2 separate regions of the Homo sapiens genome follow, and region 2 is linked to region 1. The links are contacts of gene promoters, found by promoter capture Hi-C in blood cells and fetal thymus (Javierre and others, 2016). All regions are on one chromosome and are shown on one strand. The core of a region is centred on a gene start or on the middle of the fragment in contact, and the rest is flanking DNA. Distances in the headings are between cores, read along the strand shown. Region 1 holds the start of NAAA (N-acylethanolamine acid amidase). Region 2 holds the start of CCNI (cyclin I).

Evidence for each region. The method cuts DNA at HindIII sites, captures the fragments that hold promoters and counts their contacts. A CHiCAGO score of 5 or more calls a contact.
Region 2: a contact is called between the fragment with the promoter of CCNI here and the fragment with the promoter of NAAA in region 1, in 1 of 17 cell types (fetal thymus). The highest score is 6.0, in fetal thymus.

The regions. Positions count from the first base shown.
Region 1 is chr4:75,938,711-75,944,611 of GRCh38, reverse strand. It overlaps NAAA (N-acylethanolamine acid amidase), which reads left to right and starts at 3,599. Exons shown (of 11, transcript NM_014435.4): 1 at 3,599-3,868; 2 at 4,447-4,611. The coding sequence starts at 3,663. RefSeq lists silencers at 3,377-3,846, 4,247-4,316. The HindIII fragment of the contact is 5,903 bases long and covers 1-4,193 here.
Region 2 is chr4:77,074,739-77,080,639 of GRCh38, reverse strand. CCNI (cyclin I) reads left to right here and starts at 4,651. Exons shown (of 7, transcript NM_006835.3): 1 at 4,651-5,168. RefSeq lists enhancers at 3,485-4,455, 4,354-4,583 and silencers at 4,764-5,113, 5,174-5,323. The HindIII fragment of the contact is 6,616 bases long and covers 1,832-5,901 here.

The sequences.
Region 1 (5,901 bases), core at 2,350-4,849:
CGCATCTGTAATCCCAGCTACTCAGGAGGCTGAGGCAGGAGAATTGCTTGAACTTGGGAGGCAGAGGTTGAGTGAGCTGAGATCACGCTACGGCACTCCAGCCTGGGCGACAGAGCAAGATTTTGTCTCAAAAAAAGAAAAAAGAAATCCAGAAAACTGAAAATGAAATCACTGGGTTTGTAGGGTCTGCAATTCTTCAACTTTACTAGGCAATACTGAATTAACACTATATTCTCGTCAGTAACTCATGTAAGTTTGTATCTTACTACATCCATGTCAACAAGATGTTATTAGACTTTGAAACTTAAGACAACCCTTTGTTTATGAAATGGTATCATGGTTTAATTTGCATTTCATTGATTACTAGAGAGGTTGAAATAACTTCACATTTTTATGTTCATTTGGGTTTTCCTCTTTTTATAGCCTTTTGTTTTCCTTTTTTTTTTTTAGTAATAAAAACATAGGAGATCTTTACGCATTCTAGATACTAATTCTTTATCAATTACCTATGTTGCAGATATCTCCACAGATAAACAATGCGATATCTATGATAAACTAAGTTCTCATGTATACTTTGGGCCTAGGATTTTCAAAACCATTTCTGGATCCTTTTTAACAGTCCTTGCTCTAGCTTCTCTCTTTCCTCTCATATTTGACTATAAGCAGCAAGAAGCCAGGTAGCAACTTCAACATTTTGCTTGGAGATCTAGCTAGAGTACCTAGTTCCTTAGGTACATTTTTCTGTGTTCTGCATTCCTCTAGGTGATCATGTTAAACATTCTGGCACTACATAACAAAGGAACCTCTTACTTCCAGTTTCCAATAACATTCTCACTTCTGAAGTGGCTAGTGCTGGCAGTCTCCTTCAAGACCATCAGACTGTTTCTTTCTTAGGATGGTTTGTTTCTCAAGGGATTTCTACTAATCATCAGACTTCTACTAATCATCAGTCTGTTAGGAACTTTAGGCTCTCACTAACATTCTGCTCAAAATTATTACAATTTCTCCCTACTACCAGTTCCAAAGCAATACATTTTTAGGCATGTGTTATGGTAGCACTACAGTTACGTTCCCAAACAAATCTATATTAATGATCTGTTTGTCACATACCAAATTACCTCAAAACTTAGTGGCATAAAGTGATAAACATTATTTCACAGTTTCTTTTTTTTGCGGGGGGGGACAGTCTCACTGTCACCCAGGCTGGAGTACAGTGGTGCGATCTGGGCTCACTGCAACCTCCATCTCCTGGGTTCAAGCAATTCTCCTGCCTCAGCCTCCCGAGTAGCTAGGATTACAGGCACCCGCCACCACGCCCAGCTAATTTTTATATTTTTAGTAGAGACGGAGTTTCACCATGTTGGTCAGGCTGGTCTCAAACTCCTGACCTCCAGTGATCTGCCCGCCTCGGCCTCCCAAAGTGCTGGGATTACAGATGTGAGACACCATGCCCGGCCTGCTTCACAGTTTCTATGGGTTAGGAATTTGGGGGTGGCTTAGCTGAGGCAGGAAGGTCCACTTCCACCATGGCTCACTCAGATGACTTGACAAGAAGCCTCAGTTCCTCTCTGGCTCTTGGTAGAAGCTCAGTTCCTCAACAAAGGGACTTTCTTTTTTCTTTTTTTTCAATTTTATTTACTTCTTTTTTGGAGACAGGGTCTCACTTTGTCATTTAGGCTGGAGTACAGTGGCGTGATCATAGTTCACTGCAGCCTCAAATTCCTGGGCTCAAGTAATCCTCCTACCTCAGCCTACCAAGTAGCTGGGACTAAAGATACATGCCCCCATGCCCGGCTAATTTATTTTTATTTGTTTGTAGAGATGGGGTCTCACTGTTGCCCAGGCTGGTCTCCAATTCCTGGGCTCAAGCAGTCCTCCTGCCTGACTCTCCAAGTGCTGAGATTTGTGTCCAGCCACAAAGGGACATTTTCATAGGGCTTCCTCAGGACATGACAATGGGCTTCCTATAGTGAGCAATTCAAGAGAGCAAGGAGAAACCCACAGTGTCTTTTGTGACCTAGTCTTGGAAGTCAACCACCAGCAATTCTGATTCTATTCATTAAACCAAGTGACCTCAGATGATCAGCCAGCCAACGTGCTGGGATGACAGGCGTGAACCACCATGTCTGGCAAGAAATTTTGTAATTCCTTTAAGTGTTATCCTTAAAAACAAGTGATTGATTATAAAAGTTGTATTTCTTCATCCTAAAATTGGTAAAAAATAAAAAAAAAATGTGTTTAGTTTCTACTATGCATTTAGTTTTTTTTTTTTTTTTTTTTTTTTTTTTTTTTTTTTTTTTTTTTTTTGAGACAAAGTTTTGCTCTTGTCACTCAGGCTAGAGTGCATTGGCACAATCTCGGCTCACTGCAACCTCTGCCTCCCAGGTTCAAGAGGTTCTCCTGTTCAGCCTCCCAAGTAGCTGGGATTACACCACCACGCCCGGCTAATTTTTGTATTTTTAGTAGAGACAGGGTTTCACCATGTTGGCCAGGCTGGTCTCAAACTTCTGACCTCAGGTGATCCACCCGCCTCAGCCCCCCAAACTGCTGGGATTACAAGCCTAAGCCACCATGCCCGGCCCTTTCATTTAGTTTCTACTATTCATGTACACATGTACCCTGTTTTACCCACAGACAACTGTGCTAACCGTTAAGAATGTCCCAGCCTTACTAAGATTTTCCTAAGTTTGTCTCCCAGACATTGGGAACTCAAAGGTGAAGAAACTTAGGTGTGAAGGTGGATTGTGGATTCAGACCTCCTTACTTGGAGGCCAGTGCAGAGACACACCAGCAGAGTAACCTCGGGTACATGGCTTCACCTCTCCAAGCCTCACACTCCTCATCAGTAAAGCGAGGATTAGTGGAACCTACCTGTTGGCTTGTTTTGATGATTAAATGAGATAATGTCCGCGAAAAATATTTAGCAGATAAATGTTCACTAAATTTTGAGCTTTAAAAAAATGTTTTACCAGCCAGGCGCGGTGGCTCACGCCTGTAATCCCAGCACTTTGGGAGGCTGAGGCCGGTGGATCACCTTAGGTCAGGAATTCGAGACTAGTCTGGCCAACATGGTGAAACCCTGTCCCTACCAAAAATACAAAAATTAGCCAGGTATGGTGGTGGACGCCTGTAATCCCAGCTACTTGAGAGGCTGAGGCAGGAGAATCGCTTGAACCCAGGAGGCGGAGTTGGCAGTGAGCGGATATCTCGCCGCCGCACTCCAGCCTGGGCAATAGAGTGAGACTACATCTCAAACAAACAAACAAACAAGCAAACAAAGTTTAACTGAAAAGTCTTTCCTGACACCTTTTCGCTACTGAAAATCTTACAGCCCCTCCCGGCCGCAGCCTACACTCCTTCGGCCCAAGCAGGTGCGCTGGAACCGGCAGTTGGTGAGAAGCCGGCTGCCGGCAGCCCCAACCCTTAGCGGCCCCGCGGTCAGGGACCTCCAGGCCCGATGGAGAGTCGGGGCGGGCTAGTGGATGCGCGGCGGGGACGGGAGGTGTCGCCGCTCCGGCTTGCCGGTGACAGGGGCGGGCGGGTCGTGCGCGGGCCCCACCTCCAGCGATCGCAGCCCAGCCCCAGCTCCTCCTCCTCCACGGCTTACCCGGGCTCCGACAGCGGCTGCAGGTCTCCAAGTTGCGGCCGCTGGAGCCCGAGCCATGCGGACCGCGGACCGGGAGGCGCGCCCGGGGCTTCCGTCCCTGCTGCTGCTGCTGCTGGCCGGGGCCGGGCTGTCAGCCGCCTCGCCCCCAGCAGCGCCGCGCTTCAACGTGAGCCTGGACTCGGTCCCCGAGCTGCGCTGGCTGCCCGTGCTGCGGCACTACGACTTGGACTTGGTGCGCGCCGCGATGGCGCAAGTCATCGGGTGAGCTGGGGCCCTGGACGGGGTCTGCGGGGACACCGGCCCTGCGGGTCGGAGTCAAACGCGCGCTGCTCAGAGTGCTTTAAACGGGGACGCTTTACTCCCCGCCACCCTTGGAGAACTGGTTTTGGCTGCCGCCCTGAGCAGCGTCCGGGTTGGGGAGAATCCAGCGCGGCAGGTTCGGCTTTCAAGTTCGGTGTCACCCGTGGCACGCCAGTCCTTGAGCCATTCCGGGTCAGCGTGGCGCGCGAGTTGTCGCCCGGGCTGCATAGCTACCAAGGAGGGGCAACCCGCGCCTTCCTTGCGGGCCTCGCGGGCCTTCCAAGCTTGCCCCTTTGGGACCAGCCTCACTCGCCCTCCCCATTCGGAGTTTTCTTACCCGCCGCCTTCCCCCCGCCCCCTTCCCCCCACTCCCGGGAGGCTGCAGATTGAGTGACGCCGCGCCTGGGCGGTCCACTGACTGGGGAGCAGTGGCCCTGAGACCTCACGCCCTAAGGATGTAGCCCCGCTCGCAGTGCACACGCAGTCGCACGCCGCCGACCTCTGAGCGGGTCAGACGCCCTTGTGCTTTTTGTTTCTAGGGACAGAGTCCCCAAGTGGGTGCACGTGTTAATCGGAAAAGTGGTCCTGGAGCTGGAGCGCTTCCTGCCCCAGCCCTTCACCGGCGAGATCCGCGGCATGTGTGACTTCATGAACCTCAGCCTGGCGGACTGCCTTCTGGTCAACCTGGCCTACGAGTCCTCCGTGTGAGTGCCCCAAGCCCGCGCGGAGTAACGCGGGGCTTGCGGGGGCCCCCGACACAGACTAGCGGGAGGAGACATATTTTCCGTGTGATAAAAACAGGGCGGTGCCTGCTTGCCTAGAAACCTCCAGCGCTTCCTCTTTGCCTCTCTGGGTAAATCTGAGCTGCACATCGTAGGCTTCGAGAGGGAAAGCAGATTCTCCGATTCAACACTAAACTTTCCCTCTACGTGTAGCCCCGGGTTTTCTCTTCCCCAATCCAGGTAGCGTACTTTTAAAATTCTGCTCAAAGGCCGGGCGCGTTGGCTCACACCTGTAATCCCAGCACTTTGGGAGGCCAAGGTGGGCAGATCACGAGGTTAGGAGTTCGAGATCAGCCTGGCCAACATAGTGAAACCCCGTCTCTACGAAAAACACAAAAAATTAGCCAGGCGTGGTGGTGGGCGCCTGTAATCCCAGCTACTTAGGAGGTTGAGGCAGGAGAATCACTTGAACCCGGGAGGCGGAGGTTGCAGCGAGCCGCGATCGCGCCACTGCACACCAGCCCTGGCGACAGTGCGAGACTCTGTCTCAAAAAAAAAAAAAAAAAAATTCTGCTCAAAACGTACTTTTCCAGGAAGTTTTTGAAACTAAGCCTCCTCTCATCTGGACCCTTTAGTTAACTCAGTGGCCTTCCAGCTCTATACTGGCAGTGGCTCATCTCTGCCCTTATTTGTCGCCCTGCATTTATCCTTTCATGTGTGTCGTGGCTGAAGTGTCTGTGTCCACCAGGGCTGGGGCGACAGGGAACACTGCTCTAATAGGGCCAGCCAGTGTTTGGACCGGGAAGTGGGCATGATAAAATGTGCATCCAGGCTGGGCGCGGTGGCTCACGCCTGTAATCCCAGCACTTTGGGAGGCCGAGGCGGGTGAATCACCTGAGGTCAGGAGTTCAAGACCAGCCTGGCCAACATGGTGAAACCCCGTCTCTACTAATAATACAAAAAAATTACCAGGGCCTGGTGGCGGGCACCTGTGAATCCCAGCTACTTGGGAGGCCGAGGCAGGAGAATCACTTGAACCCAGGAGGCAGAGGTTGCAGTGAGCCAAGATGGCACCATTGCACTCTGCAGCCTGGGCGACAAAGCGAGATTCCATATCAAAGAAAAAAAGTGCACCCAGAAGTGAAAGCAACATGGAGTGTGTGGTTGATCCCAGGCAAAGTGCAGGGGACCACTAAAGGTTTATGGGCTCAGTAATAGGCCCTGGAATAAAGAGAGGTTTTGACTTGGTTTCTTCCTTCAATACTTATTGTT
Region 2 (5,901 bases), core at 3,402-5,901, 1.1 Mb before region 1:
AACAAGTCTGAAATCCTTTTCCAGTAAAAATCTACTCTTTAGACACACAAATAACTGCATATTAGATTTTTAAAAATATTTAAGATTAAACACAAGCCAAAAATCACCACAAGGTGACTATTTTTGTCCTAAAATTTACTGCAAGCCAGAAACTTCTAAGGGAGAGGCAGTAAAGAGTAGTGATTAAAAACATACCATGCTTTGGAGATAGTCAACCTGGGTTTGAATCCTGGCTGTGCCCCTCTAAGCTATGTGATGAATATTGGGATTTACTTTACCTCTTTATCTTTTGTAAAATAGGAACAACAAAAATACCTACTATAGAGGAGTGCTGTGGGGATAAACACAAAAGAATGCAATAAAAATGCTTAGTATAATGTTTGCTACATAGTGAGTGATCAACATGTGTTAGTTATTATTATTCTCTCTCTCCTTTTTTTTTCAGATACAGGGTCTTTCTGTGTTGCCCAGGCTGGTGCAAACTCCTGGGCTTAATGATCCTCCCAGCTTGGCCTCCCAAAGCAATTACAGGCATGAACTACCACACCTAGAAATGCCGTGTAGAATGGTAGTCTAACTTTACTATTTAGAATTACTAAATAGAAGTTATTTACCAATACGCGGATAATATGTTCTCTTTATATATCTTATTTATTTTCTCAGGGAATTTCATAAACTTTCGATTTTTTACAACTACAATTAATTGTAAAAACAATTATTAGTTATTAAAAAAAATATGGCCTGGCGCAGTGGCTCAAGCCTGTAATCCCAGCACTTTGGAAGGCCGAGGCAGGTGGACTACCTGAGGTTAGGAGTTCGAGACCAGCCTAGCCAACATGGTGAAACTGTCTCTACTAAAAATACAAAAATTACCCAGGCACGGTGGCACACCTGTAATCTCAGCTACTCGGGAGGCTGAGGCAGAAGAATTGCTTAAACCCGGGATATGGAGGTTGCAGTGAACTGAGATTGCACCATTGCACTCCAGCCTGGGTGACAAGAGAGAGACTCTGTTTCAAAAAAAAAAAAAAGTGAATTAAAGTATGGTCTTACAAATGGATACTGAAGAACAAGAATGTCCATATTGGCTGTGCACAGTGGCTCATGCATGTCATCCCAGCACTTTGGGAGGCTGACGTAGCTGGATTGCTTGAGCTCTGGCATTCGAGATCAGCCTGGGCAACATGACAAAACCCCGTCTGTACAAAAAATACAAAAGTTAGCTGGGCATGGTGGTGCACACCTGTATTCCCAGCTAGTTAGAAGTCTGAGGTGGAAGGATCGCTTGAGCCTAGGAAGTTGAGGCTGCAGTGAGCTGAGATCGCACCACTGCAACCTGGGTGACAGGGTGAGACCTTGTCTCAAAGGAAAAAAAAAAAAGAAAGAAAATATCCATACTTTTTGTTCAGACAACTGCAACTAGTTACTTACCCACCTATTAATTACTTGTAATTATATTTATAGTAGATTAAATTGTCACTGGCAATCTCATAGGCAGTAAGATAGTTTTAATAAGGATAAGTATATAATTAAATGGGAGCTCTTAAAGACTCCTGGTAACATTTTAATTGGTTTAATCTTCTGCCTTGCAACTGGCAACTGGTATTCAGTAAAAGCCATAAAAACATAATATTGTTGGACCTAGGAATAGCCCCAAAGAGGTTATGAAGATGTTAATTGAATTATTTTTGTTTTTCATTTTTTGGGTAGCAGCTTTATTATAATTCAAACACCATAGAAGTAATACATTTAAAGTGTACAATTCAATGGTTTTTAGTACAGGTTGCATATCCCTGATACAAAAATCTGAAATGCTCCAAAATCCAAAGCTTTTTGAGTGCCAACATGACACTCAGAGGAAATGCTCATTTTGGATTTTCAGACTAGGTTGCTCAACCAGTAAGTATATAATTTAATGCAAACATTTCCAAAACTGAAAAAAAAGTTTAAAATTCAAAATACTTCTGGTCTCAAATATTTTGGATAATACTCAACCTAAATATTCACAGTTGCGCAACCATCAACACAATCAATCTCAGAACATTTTTCTCACCTCAAAAAGAAACCTTCAAAAAATCAGTTGGGCATGGAGGCATGCGCCTGTGGTTCCAGCTACACAGGAGGCTGAGGCAGGAGGATTGCTTGATCCTGGAGGTCAAGGCTACAGTGAGTCATGTTCACACCATTGCACTCCAGCCTGCAGCCTGGGGGACAGAGCAAGGCCCTGTTTCCAAAAAAAAAAAAAAGAAAAAAAGAAAAGAAAAAAAGAAAGAAACCCCCATATCATTTAACTATCATCCCCTAATCCCATGCCTGCCCCTAGCCCTAAGCAACCACTTCCTTACTTTCTGTCTCTATATATTTGCCTATTCTGGACATTCACGTAAGTGGAATCATATAATATGTGGTCTTTTGTGACTGGCTTCTTTCATTTAGCATACTGCTTTCAAAGGTTATGCATGTTATAGCATGTATTAGTATTTTCTTTTTATGGCCCAATAAGATTCCATTGTATAGGTCGGTGTGACGGCTCATGCCTGTAATCCCATCACTTTCAGGCTAAGGAGGGAGAATTGCTAGAGGCCAGGAGTTTGAGACCAGCCTGGACAACATAGGAAGTCTCATGGCACCCCCATCTGCGCCACGGAGCCAGACCCCATCTCTTAAAAATAAAAATTTGATTGTACATAGATGTATCACATTTGATTTATACAGGCGCCAGCTGATGAACATTTAGGTTGTTTCATCTTTGGCTATTATGAATAATGCTAACGTTTGTAAAAAAGTTTTTGCATGGACAAATATTTTCCTTTCTCTTGGGTATATATTTAGGAGTGGAATTTGCATTATTCTTATTGGAGTGAAAATCAGAAGCAATTTCATGGTCTAACAATGGAATTATGTTACACTCTCAATAGTATTATGCAGAAATGCTACAGTCTCAAGAGTAACATGCAGAAAAATGGTGGCTTTTTTGAATGAAGACCATATAATAATAGGCTACATGAAGTGAAAAAAAGAAAAAAAAAGGATACAACCCACTTGAAATCCTCCTAGGGCTTCCCATTCCTTCTTCTGTTCTATGGCATCTGTCCTCTGCTTCCACATCCTGCCTCAGTTGTCTGAGGGCCAGCCACACTAGCTTTCAGAGATTTTTAGAACGTCTCAGCTTCGGAGCCTTTTCACATAACTTCCTCTGCTTGTATCATTCTTTGCCCAGTGGTTTCAAGTCTCATCTTAAATGTCACTTCTTCAGAAAAACCTTCTCTGATATCCCAAACCAGGCGGAAAGGCAAGCGTTTCCACAGCAGCCGGCGATTTTCCATCTTAACGGTTTTAATACCAGAATTGTTTACTTGGTCAAATATTGAGAGCCTTTTATACACAGGGATAGAGGGTGAAACATGCAAGATCCCTGCCGCCTGCGACCTTATATTCTAGGGAGGGGATACATGCACAAGTAAACAAGTAAATGTACTTGGTAATTTTACATAGTGATAATTAGCTCAATGGTTATCCTCTGTTTGGACTGTAAACTCCATGAAGGCAGGAGCTATGTCTGTCTTGGCTACTTCCAGTTTGCTGAGTCTGGCCACTAAATAAACTCAACACATATTTTTTCACTGACAGTTAAAATAACTATATAAAAAACAAATGGAAAAAACAAACGAGACTTCTATAAATGGTTGAGATCTAGCTCTTCCTCTTTCAAAACTCTGTAATACTACATATTTTTAAATAATTAAAACAATCAAAATAGCAAAAAGTTACCGTTTGTACTAACAGAACCCCAAATAAAACCCATTTATGTCACCACACATTCTTTAAGCACCTGGTAATAAAACCTATTCGGAAATACTCAGACGTGTTGGTTGAGTGGATAAAATCCCCTTGCCACATTGCCAAGCAGGTTCCTCGCCGTCAGCAGTATAATTTACAGTGTTTCACTGAGGCCTTAAGCACCCATGATTTGATTCTCCCTAATTTTCCGATTCCTAAAACCCTTTAGAATCTCCCTCCACCCACACAATGTGGCAGTGAGAAAAACCGCAATTCTATTTACATGTCAACGGTAAGAACACGTAATACTTTGCTAGGTCAACAAATCTGCAAGATCTCCACCCAAGAGATCAGTAGCCCCTTCCCAGTGAATCCTTCTAAGAGCCTGGGGACGAGTAGGGCTAGATAAAACCAAGCTGCTGTAAAGCTGGACCACAGGAGCGGATCGTGAAATCCCCTCCCCCAAGCGCAGCGCTCGGCCGCTTCTTTCTTCCCCAGGCGCATGCGCAGCGCACTCTCCGGCCACCGCACGCCCCCTCAGTGGGGGCCCAGAGACGCTGACGTCACCGTGCGGTCTGCAAGCAACCCTTCCGCTCCTTCAAGGAAAATGAGTCCACGGACCTTCGGCTTTTCTTAGCCACGAGAAAACGTCCTCCCTCCTTCCATCCTAGTGCCAACGACTTCCCCAGCCCGTCTCCTTTCGGCCGCACTTCTCTGTACTTTCGTTGGACCGGGAAGGCGGCGGGGAGGAACAGGAAGGGTGAAAGACCAAGTCCGCGTAGTTTACAAGGAGTGGGCGAGTCTAGGAATCGGTCCGCGAGGGCGGAGCCGAGGAAGCCGGCACTTCTTCCTCCCTTCCCCTCTCTTCCCCTCCCTCCCCAGCCTTCCCCGCGAGCGGACGCGGCAGCGCCTCTGTCTCGCTTTTTCTTATTTTTCCCCCCTTTCCCCTTTCTTTTTTTTTTTTTCTTTTCTTTTCTCCCCTCCCCCCCTTTCACCATTTCCCCTCGGAGGCGCTTTCCCCGGGCAGGGGCAGAGCCGGTCTCACCCCCCGCCTCTCCCCGGCCCCCGCCGCCCTATGGCGAGAGGGAGCCCCCTCCCAACCCGGGCTCGAGCGGCGGCGGCCTCAGGCCGGGGGTCATCATGGAACTAATTCGCTGACCGACCCAGCGGCCGCAGCCGTGCGTCCCGCTCGAGCGCCAGCGCCCGCGCCCGCGCCCCCCGATCCGCTTCCCCTTTCTCCCTCCTCAGTTGGCCGAGTCGTCCCGCGCGCACCGCCTCCGCGCGCCTATGAGAATGAGGTGGTAACGGGCCCCCGGATGACCCCGCGTCACCACTGTGAGGCCTACAGCTCTGCCGGGGAGGAGGAGGAGGAGGAAGAGGAGGAGAAGGTGAGGGGCGGGGGCGGGGGCGGGGGCTCGACGCGTCTCCGCGGCCGGCGTCGACGCGCTGGGGCCCCGCTGCTCCCCCCGCGCCGCCCCCGTGGCAGCGCCCTTGGCCGCGCGCTGCTCGCCGGAGACCCACCCTCCCGCATCCCCCAGCCCGGGGAACCTCGGGGCCGCCCTCTTCGTCCTCTCCGGCCCAGACAGACCCGTCACCTGCCCACTTGAAAACGGCACTACTGTGTTCCTTTTCGGGCCAGTTTTTCTGTCAGCGAGTAACTTTTTTTTGTGGCAGCGGCAAATTAGCTACTCTATAGTGCGTGTTGGAGGCTCTACGAGCCCGTGTTAATACACAAAGAAGGGGACACACCCCCACCCTCAGGTTGAACGATTCTCCGGGGACACCAGGAGGATTACTAACTTTGCACGGCAGACTGAATGCCAAATGAATGGGGTGAACCTCCGGTGCTGTGAAATTCGGGGGAGGGCAACGTTACCCAGGGCTTGGGGCGGGTGGGTGGGGGGAATCCGGGGGAGGTGAGATTTGAGTTGTGCTCTAAAGGCTAGATTAAATAACTGGAATTTGAAAGGAGGACAGAGGAGCCTCCGCTGGAGCTAGGGGGCTCCGTTACAGATCCTTTTGGCAGAAGTTGACAATTGGGTATCAAAACAGTGGAAGGTGTTTCGGGAGGTAGGATGGATTCAGACTCTGAAGGGGTTTGAACTAAAATGTTTATGTTTT